Regions from separate parts of the Homo sapiens genome. Here region 1 is linked to region 2. Evidence: promoter capture Hi-C in 16 types of primary human blood cells and fetal thymus (Javierre and others, 2016). All regions are on one chromosome and are shown on one strand. Each heading gives the region's core, a stretch centred on a gene start or on the middle of the fragment in contact. The rest is flanking DNA. Distances are from core to core; before and after follow the strand shown. Region 1 overlaps FHIT (fragile histidine triad diadenosine triphosphatase). Region 2 holds the start of PTPRG (protein tyrosine phosphatase receptor type G).

Region 1 (3,549 bases), core at 638-3,137, 960 kb after region 2:
GTACACCCCTGAGGGCTCCATCAGAAAGAGGCAGAGTGCTCCAGATGGAGCTGCTGCTTCTCTGGAATGGGAGAAGTACCTGCCCTTAATCCTCACTCATTGAGAGAAGATATAAGGCAAGTGGGAGCAGGGAGGAGAAGACTTGAGTTTCAGCAAGTAAGGGGCTTGAGTATTAGGTAAGAAGTGCCAAAGGGAATAGACACTATTCTCCATTCATCCTTTTTATTTCCCCTCTGATTTTCACAGCAAGCCAAGTTTCTGGCCTACTTCTCAAGAATATGAATATATATACATATATGTTTATATGTGTGTATATATGTATATGTGTGTATATATGTATATGTATGTATTGCAGACAAAAGTTTTCCTAAATTAGTGAAATTAGTACAAAATGAAAACCTTGTTAGGATGTCAGAGAAGAGGGAATAATTGAAGGGAGAAATGACTTGGAATTGTTTGCAAATGTTGAAGACACATCTATCACGCATGTGGTGTGGGAAATTGTGATACTAGAAACGTGAACTCAGTACACAATGAATGTTCAACACCTCTGCTACCTCAATCAGAAAGAATCTGTCTCACCCTGATGAGTTGCTCTGAAAATAACCACCAATTACCCCAACTTCAGTAGGGAAGATAATATACTTTTAATTAGTGGCAGACTAGATAGAAATATAAATCCTTATCATCCTAAAAAAGAATTCTACCATTTGCCAACCCTTGCAAGTAATAAACATGAAAGTGCCCTCTTCGAAAGAGGCCCACCGAGGAAGTGACTGTTTAGTTCCCTGAGACCATCTGAAAATGATTAATCTGCTCATCGGCAATTCAAAGCTTCTATTTCTGTGGTGTCTGAAAATTTATATTATTCTAGAAGATTTATAAAAACCCTGGTGGTTTTCAGCTGGGAGAAGGGCTTTAGTGGTGTGGTTATCAATGATTATTTGCCCTTCCTTGGATACTATAGTGACTGCCATATGGAAGAGGGACTAAAATTTATTCTTTCTAATTCCTGATGACAGACACTAGTAATAGAGAACCCGGCTTTAGCTTGAATTAACAACTTTTGAAACAAATATAGAGGTCCAGCAATGGAATGAGCAGCCTCTCAATGTAGTAATATTCCCATTAATGGAAGGATTCAAGCAGAATCAGAGTTCCAGTGGAAGCAGGTAACAGAGACTGAGGTTAATATAAGTAGAAAAGGAATTTGTTACAAATAGAAGGATATCGGGGAGTTAACAGAATCAAGATGCGGGCAGGAGGGACTAGGCTTAGAAACAGGAAAGTATCAAGATGGAGTCTACTTGGCTATTAAGAAGCCATTACAGCAATGAGTGAGTGAGTGGCATGTCACTCTTCTTAGGATTCAGAGCCCTGGAAGAGAAGGTCCAATTAACTGAGCTTAGGACACATGCTCATCCTTTTTCCATTACAGCAGAAAATATACCAGAAGTCTCCAGGACCTCAAATTCTGGAGTGGAATGAAAAGGCACCCAATTCACTATCCTAATGGTGGCTTATAATAGGAGAAAAGTCCCTAAAAGTGAATCAAGATGCTATCACAGGCTGGGCTCGGTGACTCACGCCTGTAATCCCAGCACTTTGGGAGGCTGAGGCGGGCAGATTGCCTGAACTCAGGAGTTTGAGACCAGCCTGGGTAACATGGTGAAACCCCATCTCTACTAAAACACAAAAAATTACCTGGGCATGGCAGTGGGCATCTGTAGTCCCAGCTACTTGGGAGGCTGAGGCATGAGAATCACTTGAATCCGGGAGGCAGAGGTTGCAGTGAGCTAAGATTGCGTCACTGCACTCCAGCCTGGGTGACAGAACGAGACTCCATCTCAAAAAAAAAAAAAATGCTATTACAATGAGGGAATAGGGACTGAGGAACCAAAACTGAACAAGTGATGTTTGCTATAGTAAACATCCATTAGGAATATTGTAGAGGAGGATTCTTTGTTGGGTAGGAAGTTAGGGAGAAAGAGTTGGTCCCTCTGGCTCTAGCACACTCTGGGGCAAGAAGAATGTCATCCTTGAGAGATTAGGAATTTAGCATCCTTAAAAGTAGTCAGGCAGACTTGGGCGAGATAACATCCCCTGGTTTCTATAATTGTGTCTATGATCAGCTTCTCTTTGAAGGTTTTCATCTGTGACAGAGCAGTCAGATACTATAGTGTTTTTATATACTATTTACAGATACATATAGGACATTCACATGTTCAAAGTTTGAGAATTCCTTATAACTTTATCTTTCCTCCTCTCCCATCCCCTGTGATGGTCAGTTTCTAAACCCTACTTCAGGTATCCTTCTCAAAACTCTCATAGGCAAGAACCAGGTGCCCCATTAGCTGTGTTCCCACAGCACCTCCTGTCCGTACCTCTAGCAGAAAATAAAGCAAAATAGTATATGATGTTAGTTGTTTCCATTACTGGATTGAGAAGAACTCCTGGATGCAAGGACCTTGTGTTTAATTGCTGTAGTTTTAGCCTGCAGCACACAGACCAAGGAGATAAACAAATGAATGAAAAGACATAGGAAGAAATGGAATGAATACATTGAAATATAAATAAATGGTAGAGGTCTTTCAGGGTTCTTTTCTAAACTGGTGCCTTCTGAAACTGACTTCTCAAGTATGTCCTAATCCGTACACTTCTTTGTCCTAAGCGGAGTGAATATTTGATCTCTTGGTATCTGTCAGGTGGAACCTTTCTCTGGAAAGCTAAAAGCATTTTACTCTATTGATGTGTTCTCACCAGAGCTGAGCCATGAGTAGTTAAGTAGGCATTTGTTTCTATTATGACTGCAAATAGTATGATTTCAAATCACTTTTATTGCAGTGATTTGAAGGGATTACACCTTTAATTTGCAAAGCAGTACCCTAGAACTGAACCAAACCAAAGCTGTGGCTATACTAAGTTATTGCCTAAGCTTTCAGTTCATGGACATTAGTATTGGGGAAAATCAACTGCATCTCTCTCTCTCTCTCTCTGTGTGTGTGTGTTTGAGTATAGAATCCTCAACTTAGTTGTGAACAAAGGTACATACTTAAGCATAGAAATCCTAATTTTAAAAAATGTGAATGGTTTAGACATGAGAGAAATCACAATCACAGAGAGGGGAGCCTGAATGAAGTCAGAAAGCTCTTGTGTTAAAATGGACCTTGGGCAGGTTACTGATCCCTTCAATGCTGCTCCTCCCTGTCCATTGTGAAATCTGTGAAATGGGGATGATGATAACAGAATGGAATCTATAGGGTTGTTTTGAGGATTAAATGAACTTGCTTTCTCTCAGTTTGCCCACTATTCTGAAGAGATCCAAGATTCCTGGGCAATAGTAAGTGAGAGGGAAAATGAGCAGAGATCTTTTTCTTCCTGTGGCTGATCACTTAGGACACCAAGAGTGGGAACCTCGGTTTTTTTCCCATTTCATGCTCCTTCCTGCATAGAAGGGGAGCTGATGAGTGGAATAGAGCTATAAGAAATGACATAATTTGTTATCTGCAGTGACCTGGTCAGAGCTGGAAGCAGAAGCAACACTCAGAA
Region 2 (3,732 bases), core at 454-2,953:
GGTCTGCCAGCCGCGAACAGCCTGCAAAAGGGCAAAGATGAAGGTAGGCAGGGCGCGCGAGACAGGAAAAAAATCAGCCCCGGCGCGAACAGCAACCCGGCCGCCGAAACCGCCCCGGCCGCCGAAACCGCCCCCGCCCCCTCCCCGCGTCCAGACCCAGGCAATCCAATCGAGCAGAGCAGCGGAGGGAAAGGGCCACGGGCCGGGGCTAGGGGAGACACGGATCTCTCCGAAACCGCCTGCGCCCTGCCGTCTCACTGCGCCCAAGGAGGCTGCCTCACGCCGGCACCGAAGTGCTGCCCGCGCCCCAGCCCCCAGAGAGAGGGAGGACGCCCCCGACCCAGAACGCAGGCTGCTCCCCACACATCCTCAGTCCTCCGCAGCCAGCCTCCGACTTCCATTCCCCGAAACCTAGCCCTCCCAAAGGGATGGAGAACAGCAAAGCAAACCCCCACCTTCTGAGTTCCTTCAATACCCGCCAGAGCGAGGGGGCTCATCCCGGGCCCCCCAAACCCACAGAAGCATCCTTTCCATGGCCTCAGTCTCCCCAACCGCCCCACAACTCGAGTTCTCCCGATCGGCGACGAGTCAGCAAAGCAAGTCCCCCTTTCTCCCGATTCCAGCTCCCCAGGACCCCCAAAAGGGAGCGGGAGCAGACCCCCGCGTCCCCCAGCCCCCTCCCCGGCCAGCCCCTGCCTCCACCTTCCTCGACCACTAGCCTGCCTCCCTAAACATCATCCAAGCCAGCGGAGCAATCCTTTTCTCCTATCCGGGCGCCGGGCCACCCTCCACCCTCTCCAGGGTCTCCCGGACGGGCGCCGGAGCTCCGCGCCCAGGCGACAACTCCGCATCCCCAACGCGCGCCGGCCGGGGCCGCATCCCCTCGGCGGCCGGCACTCACCGGGGAAGCACACGACATAATGGAGCACGGAACTGGTGATTTTCAGGAACAAAATCCACCAACACGGTTCCAGTAACCTCCGCATGTCCGAAAACGCACATCGAAAAGAGGAAAGCAGGGAGGTAAACTTGTTGAATAAGTTCTTGCCTCCGTGCGAGCCTCCGCTAAGCCGGGGCGCTTCCCCGGCTCGCCCGCTCCACGGGCCCCCCGCGCTCGGCGGCCCGAGTCCCCTTGGAATCCGGGAAGCCGCCGAGCGCCCCCCGGAAAATCTCAAAAAGTGACCGGGAACGCAGAGCCACGCTGGGGACGATCCTCTCGGCGGAGAAAGGCTGCTTTCCGTTTAAAAAGGAGAGAGCCGATCGGGCAGGGCGCGGAGTCGGCGGCCGGCGGCGATGCCCCGGGCCTGGGGCAGGCAGGGACCGCGGGCGGCGGCGGCGAGCAGCCGAGGATCCCCAACTTGAGTCGGCAGCGCAGCACAGCCCGAGAGCCGGCGGGCGGCGGCGGGGCTGAGCGCGGCGCGGCGTCTCCGGGCTTCAGGCAGGCAGCTCCTTCCAGGGCCCCGGGAAGGAAGGAGGCATGTTTGCGAGAGGGGAAGGGGAGGGGAGAGGCAGGGGGAGCGGAGAGCCCCCCAAAATAGAAACGGCCGGAGGAAACGGAGGAAAACACAAAGGATCTCAGAGGGGCGCTGGGGCGAGGGCGCCTTCAGTCCATGCTCCTGAAAGTTGTGGCTCCGGCGCAGGCTGGGAAGGAACGAAGAGCGCGGGGCTGGAAACTGGCCATGCCTCCATACAGGAAGTAACATGTGAGCATGGATCCTGGCAGAGACTTTAAAGCCGGCGAGCGAAGGAGCGAGCGAACAGGGGGCGCGCGGTGGCGGCGGGGGCGCGCAGCCCGGGCCAGCTGGCGGCGGGCGCGCGCTCTCCGCGTTCTTAAAGCAGCCGCGCTTGGCTCCCGCCTTGCGCTGGGTCCCTCGGCTCTGCTCTCTCCGCGCGGCCTCTACTGGGACAGTTTGGGGACTGGGGGCGATTGTAGCCCGTGCGCGGAGAGAGGAGGGAGGCTGCCTTCTGGGGCCGGCTTGTTTTTTGCTGGATTCCCGTTGTTCGAGCTCTTAAAAGACGCCGCACGGTGCTCGGGTTTGGCGAGATCCTCCGCGCAGCTCGCGGATCCCGGACTTGAGGGGCCCCTCGCCCTGGCGAGGGGAAAGGGGGAGGGCGGACAGCTGCCTTTTTAAAGCGATGGGGTTTTCTGTTCGGCTTCACTGCCCTGGCATTTGCAGCGGTGAGGCTCACCGTCTGCGGCTCCTGTTCGCGCCTCCAACACAGCGCATTCCCCCGCCGGGAAACAAAGCCGAGCGGCCTTTGCACTCCGGCTACATTGAGATTTAATTTTTTTTTTTTTTCTTTTTCGGGCTTTCATTGGCCCAGTCCAAGGCTGGGGAAAGTGGGGGAGGGGAGGAATGTCGATCCCAGGATTGCGAAATCTAGCCCTTCCGAGCCCCGCATCCCCTTTCCCGGCGCCACGATGGATCGGTGGCGGAGTTTCCCCAACTCGCAGCTTCTCTGGAGAAGGTTCCCGCACCCCGGTTTGGCCGCGGGGAGGGCGCAGGAAGTGCGCCTCTTACACCCTGCAGGGTGAAAGCAGCGCCGCGGGGCCGGACTGATTTCCTGGCAGCTACCCGGGGAGCGGCTGCTTCTTTAGCAATCGGGGAGAGGCGTCCGGGGGAAATGGGAGGACTAGGCTTATCTGTAATGAGTTTTGTCCCTTGGCTCTCGGTAAGAAGATCTTTATCGCTTAGACTTCTAAGCGCCCTATTTTACATTCTTAACGCTGGGGCTAAAAGTGGGGGAGGCGGGCTTTCGAGTAAATGTGTAACTGAGCCAAGGTAATTAGCCGTTTGACATTTTTTGCCTAATTTTTCTGCCTGTGTTTCAAAGCGATCTTGACGTGGGATTGTTTTGTTTTGTTTTGAGACGGAGTCTCGCTCCGTCGCCCAGGCTGGAGTACAGTGGCTCGATTTCGGCTCACTACAACCTTCGCCTCCCGGGTTCGGGCGATTCTCCTGCCTCAGCCTCCCGAGTAGCTGGGACTACAGGCGCCCGCCACCACGCCCGGCTGATTATTTTTTTGGTGGTTTTTTTTGTTTGTTTTTTGTTTTATTTTGGTTTTTTTTGTAGAGGCGGGGTTTCACCGTTTTGGCAAGGCTGGTCTCGAACTCCTGACCTTGTGATCCGCCTGCCTCAGCCTCCCAAAGTGCTGAGATTACAGGCGTGAGCCACCGCGCATGGTTCTTGTGTTTTAAACGTGTCCCTGCTGTTTCATCCCAACACGGCAGGGTCCTCCACCCACCCAAACATCCCAACCGGATGCTAGGTTTTCAAATAAAGTACAGATGGTCGGAGATCCTCCCGTTCGATGTGATTAAGGAAGCATTTTCACACCCACACTTCCAAAAGAAAAACCTTTGAAAAGTTACGTATGGGATTACAAACTAATAAAAGCCAGGAAGTTCCTGGGGAGGGCCCTAGCTCTATCTTTAGCAGAACGGGGGTGAACACCCTCCCCCAGGGTGGGGAATGAGGCGAGTTTGTTTGCTTTGGAATGTGGTCCTTCCTGGTTTTATTGGAATCCTGACTTCTTTATAAAGGATTGCGAGGGCCATTTTTCTTGGAAGTGTTGTAATGAGGGATATTCGTTCCTCAAGTTAGATTACCCCAGCATCCCTGACTACCTTCTTAATGTCGAGTGATAAAATAGGAAAAACTCGTCAAATACTTGTGTCAGCGTCCTCAGGTGAGGTTTCCTCCTCTGTGAAATGGACAGTAAAAGCTGTC

What was found. The method cuts DNA at HindIII sites, captures the fragments that hold promoters and counts their contacts. A CHiCAGO score of 5 or more calls a contact.
Region 1: a contact is called between a fragment that was not itself captured here and the fragment with the promoter of PTPRG in region 2, in 1 of 17 cell types (neutrophils). The highest score is 5.2, in neutrophils.

The regions. Positions count from the first base shown.
Region 1 is chr3:60,604,559-60,608,107 of GRCh38, reverse strand. All of the region lies in intron 4 of FHIT (fragile histidine triad diadenosine triphosphatase), which reads left to right. Among named protein-coding and RNA genes, the nearest start is that of MIR548BB, 12 kb to the left of the region's middle. The HindIII fragment of the contact is 2,101 bases long and covers 837-2,937 here.
Region 2 is chr3:61,559,542-61,563,273 of GRCh38, reverse strand. It overlaps PTPRG (protein tyrosine phosphatase receptor type G), which reads right to left and starts at 1,703. Exons shown (of 30, transcript NM_002841.4): 1 at 902-1,703. The coding sequence starts at 986. RefSeq lists an enhancer at 2,926-3,601. The HindIII fragment of the contact is 7,216 bases long and covers 1-3,732 here.